Linked DNA regions of Homo sapiens: region 2 is linked to region 1. Evidence: promoter capture Hi-C in human tissues and cell types (Jung and others, 2019). All regions are on one chromosome and are shown on one strand. Each heading gives the region's core, a stretch centred on a gene start or on the middle of the fragment in contact. The rest is flanking DNA. Distances are from core to core; before and after follow the strand shown.

Region 1 (4,805 bases), core at 1,552-4,051:
AACCTTTGCACCTTCCTCCTGCCTTCAGAACTGAGTCTAAACTCCCCACCCTGATATTCTAATTCCTCTAGAACCTGCCCTCAACTTTCATTTCTACATGTCTCCAACTTTTACATTCTGGAAGCCCATATCGGACCGTTTGGGGATATTCCCCCCAGGCCCTCTCCCCACATTGCTATCTTGGACCTCCCCTAAAAGAATCTTTGCTATGACCATACTTCCCCATCCTCTAAAGTCCATTAGGCCCAAGCACCCTCTTCCCTACCAATCCTGAGGCTCACTAGGACTTGGTCATCTGGTTTCCCTCTGAGTGTCAGGTGCACATGAAGTCTGAATCACTTGCTGCTTGGAGTGGGGAGGCATAGATTGGGGTGGGAGACTAGAGGGGGAGGGATGGGTTTACTTTTGGCAGGAGTGTGGTTTTAAAGAAAGAAATGAACTGAATATGAAACGGATGAGTTGCGAGCCAGGAGCGCCCATGCTGGGGACTGGAGCCATTGTTCCAGAACAGCCTGGGCTGGTGAGGCAGGCCCTCCTTGAAACTCAGATGAGCCAGGCTAGCCCCATGGCCAGGGCCTCTGTACATCTGCCTTCCACTGGCATGCCATCCACCCACACCTCTGAGAGCCCCTACTGGTTGGCAGTTACTCCTGAAGAAAACACCACTGTGTAGGAGATTTTAAATAAAATGTATTTTCTGCAAAATGTCAGCAGTCCTACTATTGCATTCATCTTTCCACAATAACATATTTAGCAACACCTCACATTCACAAAGAGCTCTCCTTCCTACATTGCAGCATCCCTTCATGTCCATGACTCCCACAGGCATGCTCTCAACCCCTGGGAACCGAATACAAACCCACTGCCAGCAGCTCATAGTGGAAGGGAAGGGGGCTTAGAGACAGCAACCTACTTGCTCAAGGCCTTGCTTTAGAAAAGATCAGCAATACTCAAATAAACTCCAAACCAGCAACAAGTCAAATAATAGCCAATATTACTTAACACATAGTACATTTTGAATCACAAAACCGAATGCATCCTATTTGAAAATTATGGTAGAAGTATTCCAAAGCATAGAAGAGGAGGCCAGAGGAGAATGGAAAAGTCATTTCACGTACTCCAGCTTGATTTCAGTAGGGGTAGCAGAGTTCAAGTCTTCAGGGTGTGAGCTTTCCGGCCCAGGTGTTTCATATAATTCTGGACCCACTTCTCCTTTGGGTCAGCACAGATCTCCTTGCCCAGTTTGGTTCTGAAGCTGTGGAGGAAGGAGATCTGGCACAGTTAGATGGAACCCTTTGAGGGTTTACCCAGGAGATGACACACTGGGTTCTAAACCTGCCTGGTCCACCTACTACAGGTGAAGGGGCACCCCTCCAGGACAGGAAGTAGGAGGTGTGTGGACAGAAGGGGTCTCTGGAGGCAGCCACTGCTCTTGCTGCCCCTGGGAAACTGATCCTGGCATCTGCTAAAGGGTGTGGGCTGGTGCCCATCCAGGAAACAAGGTGTGGGAAATTATAGGTCCTCTTTGGACCTGTTGTGCAGCCAAAATTGGAGGATTTGCATCACACAGTCTGGCTAGATCTCATCCTAAGATCTCAAGTCAGTCTGACGTCTGTCTCCTGGGGCAGAACTTTGGATTGGGGAATGTGGGAGTGGGGAGGAGCCAGGTGAGCAGGGATTTTTCTACCCACATGACAGCCTTCTGGGGACACCTGCTGGTGGTGATCACATAGCTCTTCAGCCTCTGCAAGGAGATCTTCTTACTGCTAAATGTGAAGCAGCAAGTAGATGGGACGTTGAGTGCATCTAGAAATAGTTACAAAGAAAAAGACTTTGAGGATGTGTTAGGCTTTTCTCAGCTTGAATACAGCAGGGAGCATCTGTATGGGATGCAAAGCAAAGAGGAAGAAATAGATCTTACTCACCCCCAAGCCCAGCACTCCCACCCTAGACCCTGAGGTGAGGTGGGACCTGTGACATGTGCCTCAGGATCTCAAAGGCTCAGCTGCATGGTGGAGACATGTCACAGCCATCTAGGGGAGGCCACGGGCAAGGCCAGTGGGAAAGGTCCTGGGTGTGGTCCCAGATCTGCAGAGTTTGGGACGATCAGATGAGGTCAAAGAAAAGGCCCTAAATCTGGAGTCAGAAGCTTAGGTTTCATTCTTGCTCTGCAATAACCTGGAGGTGGATGGCTAGGGTCCCTTCTGCCTCCAACATGGGCTTCAGCTTTCTATCTTTAAAATTAGATGTTAAAGTGAACCTCTGAGGAGCCTTACTATTCTGGTGGGCTTAGAAGTGGGGCACTTGGCTGGGCCTGGTGGCTCACGCCTGTAATCCCAGCACTTTGGGAGGCCGAGACGGGAGGATCACTTGAGGTCAAGAGTTTGAGACCAGCCTGGCCAACATAGTGAAACCCCTTCTCTACTAAAAATACAAAAATTAGCTGCACGTGATGGCGGGTGCCTGTAATCACAGCTACTCAGAAGGCTGAGGCAAGAGAATCGCTTGAACCTGGGAGGTGAAGGTTGCAATGAGCCAAGATCGCACCCCTGCACTTCAGCCTGGGCAACATAATGAGACTCAATCTAAAAAAAAAGTGGAGGAGCACTCGGGCTTAGGTCTTCCTTGAATAGAGAAACAGAGGGAAAGAGAGGGAGAGTCGAAGGGAGGTGACTTACCTGGCTGAGCAAGTCCCTGGGGGTTGAAAGCTGCTGTCATGAGCAGCAGGCACAGAAGCACTGCAGAGACTTTCATGTTGAAGGTTAAGAGTTGGAGATTTCACAATGTTTCTTTGCCTCTCTGCTCCTCTGGCTGTTCCGCCGGCCTTTTATAGGGAGTGGAGAAGCTTGGAACTCTCAGAGGACCTTGGCCTGAGCAGGGCGTTGACCAAGTCATGATGAAGGGGGATCCTGAATCTGCTGAGCTGGAGCTGGGCACCAAAGACTTTTCTAGGAAATGCAAGAGGGAAGCTGAGGGCTGAAACAGCATGGCATGGCTTCCTTCTGGCTGTTCAGGCCACAAGGAGCCAGAGAGGAGAAAGGGACACAGACGCGCCCCAGCCATTCACCATGGGAAGCCATAAAGGAGCTGTTTTCTTCTTACTTTCTCCAACAGGAAAGAGAAAAACAATGAAAATTAACTCCTGTAGAGAAAGAGTGCTGTGCTAAGGACTCTGTTCACGTTATATATTTAGTTTGAGGAGGTACATACCATTATTATCATGCCCATTTCATAGAAGAGGAAACGGATGCAGAGAGATTAAATAACTTGACCAAAATCTTATGGGAAATGAGAGGGAAAGCTAGAAGAGAAAGCTGGTCTGCTTATATTTTATCACCAAGGCAGTTTCAACTTTTGTTTAGCAGCAGAAGTCTTTTTCCAAGTCAACTTTTATGTGGAAGTCTAATATCTGAAACAGATTAAGTCAGATTTCTGATGACAGGGGCTCCTTACATTACATATTGTGTCCCCTTCTGCCCCTCAGGCCCAGAGGGACATGGTTCAAACACCTCTGATTGATGCAGGCCCCGTGTTTCCAGGAAGGACCATTGGGTTTCTAGAGCTGTTGATGGGAGGGCTGGGGTGGCCCTCAGAGCAAAGAAGTGAGGTGTTTGGCCCATTCCTGGGCTCCTCCTGCGAGGGGCACATATCTGGGAGCTGGGAGGTGGGGAGGGAATGGCTTAAAATGGTTGAACATGTCCCTTTCCCACTCATCCCTAGCTCCAAGACTTGGCACAGTTTTTGTGCCTTCCTGGAATACTCATCCCTCTGCATTCCACTATAGCAAAATAAGCCCAGTGAAAGTAAAGGGAAGAAATAAAGAGCTAGGATTAGAGAAATAGGAAACAGTAAATATTAGAAAGGATAGATGAAGCCCAAAGCTGGTTCTGTAGCCTATAATTAAGCTAAAACTCTCCTGAACTGAAAATGAAAAAAAAAAGAAAAAAGGGGCTGAGGCGGGGGGATCACTTGAGGTCAAGAGTTCTAGAGCAGCCTGGACAACATGGTAAAACCCTGTCTTTACTAAAAAAAATACAAAAATTACCCAGGCATGGTGGCACATGCCTGTAATCCCAGCTACTTGGGAGGCTGAGGCAGGAGAATTGCTTGAACCTGGGAGGCCGAGGTTACAGTGAGCCAAGATTGCACCACTGCACCCCAGTCTGAGTGACAGAGTAGGACTCTGTCCCAGAAAAAAAAAAAAAGAAAAGAAAAAAGGAAAAAGGTACATATAACCAGTTGCAGAGCCTGCAGACACCAAAAAGAAAATGATAAGAACCTTATGCCAAAAATTTAGTTTAGAGGAAATGGATGAATTTCTTAAAAATCTAACTGACCAGGGTGCACAAATAAATAAAAAATAGAAAGTCATTCTAAAGCTATTAAAGAAATGGAATCAGGAATTGAAAATCTTCCCACAAAACATTCTCTGGGCTCAAAGGGCACAAACAGCTAATTCCTCCAAGCACTGAAGGAAGTGGTCATTTCAATCTTGTGCAATCTCTTCCAGAGAATATCAAAAGATTGTACACCACTCAATTCATTTTGAGACCTACCTAACTTTGACACAAAAATGTGTCAAGACTCACCTGAGAAAAGGATATTATAAGCTTGTCCCTTCAGACACACATTCCATTCTTTTCCATTCTATTCTCTGCCCTAGGAAGCCAATCTTGGTGGGTTACATCAGTGAGGTTGCTGACCTTCTAGCTTCTGACTGGGTTTAGGCACAAGGGAGCTTCTGAGGACATTAGAGCAGGGAGAAGAGTTAAGTTGAGGTTCTTCTCCTCTGTTGTCTCCCTGTG
Region 2 (4,805 bases), core at 1,052-3,551, 210 kb after region 1:
TGGAAGTCGTGCTTTCAGGGGTATATAAAATTCTTTCTGATGTGATGAAGGGGTAAGACAATGACTGAGAGCTGACTATTTTGATGACCCACAATGTCTACTTGCAAAGAAAAAACTGAAGCTACTGCACAAGTTCCTAAATAATGCCTAGTTGATTGTTGGGTGAATGTGCATGTCTGTGTCTCTTTCTCTGGAAGATTTTAGACATCCAGAACTGCTTAGAAGGCTACCTGGAAGCTTATTGGCTGGGGTGTTGGTTCCTTTCCTCCTCTGTATTGTAGTTCTCTTTTCCTCTCTATAGAAAGTTCTTCCATTAATGAAGAGATGAATTTAACAAAATTTTGGTAAAGTGAATCCTAGTTTGCTACTGATTTCTTTTGTAAGAGCTGAGATGTGGTCCCATTAAAAAATCTCCCAAAGACCGAATTGGTAGCATTTAGCACTAAGTTTGCCATTAGAGGTGGTGCTCCATAGAGCAGCCCATATGTCAAAGTGCCACGCACCCCATTCCCTCCATGAGACTAAAACGATACCACCTGAGTCTAGAGAGACCTGAAAATTTGCTGTGTGCTTTCTCTTTTTTGTAGGATGTTTATGTTTGATGGAGCTGAGTTAAAATATCTACCTTGACCAGCAAGGCCATTTGACCCATGATCTATTACAACCTGAGACCAAGCCTACATCACCCCTCCCAGTTTGAAACTCCATATATCATATTTCACTCATGCATTTGACTTAAAACCATACAGACTGGGCTTAGGGGTTGCTGGATAGCAGCTGTCTCCAATGCTCAGAAATACTACATGGTTATTATTTGATAAATTGAAATTCTCTGATAAAAGCCTGTTTATCAGGTTGGGCTTTATTTGAGGACAGCATTCCCCAAAGTGCCATTCTTTGGATGCTGAAGCATCTTTCCATCTCCCAGTACTTATTTTCTTCTGATTTCGATATATTCTCTATTGATTGCCTCAGTAGCCATTGAAATTTATGCTCAGAAGAAATTAAGCATATAAAACAGAAGCAACGTATTTGCCTGGATTTATGACCTCTGTAGATTTAGTTGCACAACCTTTGGGAAGGTAATAAGCCTCAATGGGCCTCAGTTTGCTTATCTGTAAAATGAAGGGGTGGAATTAGGTGGTTTCTAAGGACTTGCCAACCTGTACCGCTCTAATGCAACAGAACATATTAAACATTTGTTTTCTGATCCTACATCTGTTGCTGAAACTCAAACTTTAACTTATGTTGGGAGTGGGGAGGAGTTGCTGCTCATTTGCCACCAGATCTATTTATCTATTTATTTGTTTGTTTAATTATAACAATTTTATTTTGATAGATATGTACAATGGAAGCAGAAACACCTAGATGCACTGAGAGGCTGCAGCAGGATGAGGGAGGCACAGAATCTTGCTCTCAAAATCCTGTTCAGGAGCCATGATATGCCTGACTGAAGCTCATCATTCTGACTCAAAGTTTGCAGCACAGTAGTCCAGCAGTTGAGGGGAGTGATACACTCTGGGTCTTCCATGCGTGAATTAGCAAGTGTATCTGTGGAAGACACTGTTGGTCAGCCCAGATCCTCTTTACTGCACCTGTAGGTAGAGCACATAACAGCTTAATCAGTCCCCTTCGTGGGGAGGCTGGCCCTTGGTTGACAGGTGCTGCCTCTTCTGGAGATACCTGGGAAGTTATTCACCTCCCCACCACCTGGGGGCAGCCAGTGGCCAGTGACTGACTGACAGGATTAGGAAATGCCAGTCATCTCACCTCAAGATGGAATACATTGTGGTGCAGTTTACACTCAGTGTTTCCCGTGGGATCAGGCTGAGCTGGACTTCTCCTGAAACCACATTCATGCTTACCTTTTCCCCCGCCCTACCTTCCCCTTCCCGCTTCTAGGCTTTTTATGAGAACACTCCCTCAATAAATCACCTGTAGAAGGTGTGCCATCTCAGGCTCTGATAGGGAACCCAACCTGTGTATTGATTAGTTTTAGCTTTTTTATCCATATGGTAACATGGACAATAGTCTAGGCATGTGGACCTAAGTCTGGTTTAGAAAGAAAAAAATACCTTTTTCAAAAATCTTTTAAACCTGGGACTTTCAAAATCTGTGTTTTCAACTCAAGACGGCGATAACAATTCCCAAGGGTGGCCCTCATAACTCAAATGAGCATCTCTCTGATTGGGATTCACTACTCTAAGCACAGCTGGTTTGTTCCCCTTAGAGTTGTTTGCCCAAAGAAAGCCCTTCCCAAGGTTTCCCTTCTCCGAAGAGCTGAGCCATACCCATTCTCCCAGCTGTTACGTGACTCTCAGCTGCTCACATTCTAGCATACACTTTTATCAGCACCTGCATTCTCATTTCCTAAGTTTGCTCTCTCTGAAAACTTCCCTTTCCTACCCTTCTACCAGCCTTCACTTCCATTTCTTCCTGAATGTGCATCAGCCTGGCTTCAAGCCATGAAGAGGAGGCTATGCATTTGATGTTGGCAGTGTCCTGGGCCCATCAATAAAGTAGAAGGCAGTGAGAGATGTATGGCTGACCAGAGGTGATGCTCCTCATATGTCACAGAAACCACGAGCGATGAGGAGCGTATGAAAGAACTCAGACAGCTTAGCATGAAAAGCGAAGTGGGTGGCTCACGGGCAATATGAGAGCTGTTTTAAAACACTTCGAAGGCAATCATAGAGAAGAGGAATGTGACTTTCTCTGTGTGAAGCCAGGGAGCAGAGCTAGCACCAATGTGTGGGTAAAAGTTTAGATAAGTGGATATCGGCAGACTAGAAGGAGTTGTCCTAGGAGTCTAGAGCACCCTGTACCCTGCCATCAGCTCTAGCTGAGGCCAGACAATTGCTTATTGGCAATGCTGCAGATGTGGATCAATGTCAGGTAAAGGGTTGGATTTAATGACCTCTAAAGTTACTTCCAACTCTGAGAGTCTTTATTTCCTTCCTGCACAGATAGTTGGGGTCAGAGGTGAGGGACATTGGCAGATAGCACTGGAAAAAAAACTGATAATAGATGCAATCCAGCACATCCAGACTGCAGAATCACCCCATTTCCCAATACTGTGTAGTCTTGAAGCTAAGTGTCTCAGAAGTCAGGAATAAGAATGGTGCCATATGAGACTGTAGACACAAAAGAGTGGATATTTCAGTTCATCCAGAGAAAGTGTGGGAAGTGGGTGGCTGGTGGAAGCCAAGGATTGAAGGGGCTGTTAAATGACCTGGGCATCCTAAAGTGTGTATGGATGGCTCCTCAAGAGGCAGTTCCCAGAGGAATTTGTCATAAATTCTGGGAGCTAGAGCCAACCCTAGAGAGCAAATCTTGGGTTGTGGTTGGGCATGGCCGGGTTCCATGTGGAGGGCTGCAGAGACTGAGAGGTTTATGGACTAGAGATAACTCTAGGTTTAGTATGGCTAGAGATAGACCCAGCTATAGGAGTTTGGAAGGAGGCTAATCTGGCAGAGAGAATGTCCTGCCCAGGAGCACTGATAACAGACAACAAAGGGATATCTGAGCTTGGGGAGCTTGGCAAATGTTGGAAGAATGAAGAGCTCTGGCACTTGAGATAATAACATAATGAGGTATTTTGGCCTCGTGGTACAATCATGGAATTTAGTGCCAGACAGGTGTAGGTTCCAGGTTTCCCTGACCTTGTACAAATTACTTAACACCTCCAGACTTCAATATCCTCATCTATTAAATAATAATAATAATACTGGTACCCCATAGGATTGTTTGCAGCAATTGAGTGAAATAATATAAGTAAAACTTTAAAAGTTATCCCAGATGTGGAATGTCAGCTGTTTTGTTACTGTTGTTACTATTATTATTACTAAGATGAGCTGGTGATACAACATAGTGACAGGAGATCCAGGAGCAAGACGATTTTTTGGAAATCTATATTGACAGTGTAGTATCAGGAAGTCCCCAGAAAGTATGGGGAATGAGGCTGTGATCAAGCCAGGGACCCAGCTCCTGCTATTATAGTTGAGCCTAAGCTACTATAGACATGCAGGTCTTGTCACAAATAAAAGTTCTTTTATTTGTTCATCATTGTGTAGCTTACAAAACCTGTTAATAATGGCTAACATTTTCTGAGCACATACTGTATCCCAGGCACTGTTCTATGCACTTTACATGGAATACTTCATTTGGTCTTCACAACAGCCAAGTGAAATATATAATAGTTGACATATCTTTTTTTTGTATGGAAAAAACTGAGGTTTAGAAAAGTGGAAGAATTGGCCTACAGTCACTTATCTTGTAATTGGTGGAAGCAGGATATGAATGAGGTATCTGATTTTATATCCTAAATGCTTTCTAAGATGCTATTTGATCCTCACAATAACTCTGAAAGTGGAAAATGTATTGTCTTAGTCTTAGTCTGTTTTGTGTTGCTATAACAGAATACCCGAGACTGGGTAATTTATAAAAAGAAAAAAAAAGAGGTTTAGTTAACTTATGGTTCTGCAGGATGTGAAACTCAACACTGAGCAGCCACATCTGGAAGCTTCTGGAAAGTCAGGCCTACTACAGACATATGCCCAGATCCCAGAGACATGGTGCTTGTGATATGCAAACATCATGACTATAAGATCCTAAGCCCATCTTTCCCTGAAAAGGCAAAGTTTCATTCACAAGTTTGACGCCCAGTGTTCTGGCTGTACTCCCATTGAAACCAGCATCTCCAAAGATGCATGACATCAGCCCAGAAACCACCTGAATATTCATCAAAAGAAAAGGTCTGCTGAGAGCCTTGTGCTGCATCAAAACATGGCAGAGAAATGGGAGGG

Evidence for each region. Contacts are between HindIII fragments. The study calls those that stand out against the background at their distance.
Region 2: a fragment that was not itself captured here is called in contact with the fragment with the promoter of CCL13 in region 1 in 2 of the 25 tissues and cell types used here (mesenchymal stem cells and spleen).

Annotation. Positions count from the first base shown.
Region 1 is chr17:34,354,476-34,359,280 of GRCh38, reverse strand. CCL13 (C-C motif chemokine ligand 13) reads right to left here and starts at 2,801. Exons shown (of 3, transcript NM_005408.3): 1 at 2,679-2,801; 2 at 1,692-1,806; 3 at 671-1,255. The coding sequence starts at 2,754. The coding sequence ends at 1,150. The HindIII fragment of the contact is 2,821 bases long and covers 908-3,728 here.
Region 2 is chr17:34,143,550-34,148,354 of GRCh38, reverse strand. It overlaps a transcript of ASIC2 not described here. Among named protein-coding and RNA genes, the nearest start is that of LINC01989, 38 kb to the left of the region's middle. The HindIII fragment of the contact is 5,486 bases long and covers 1-4,805 here.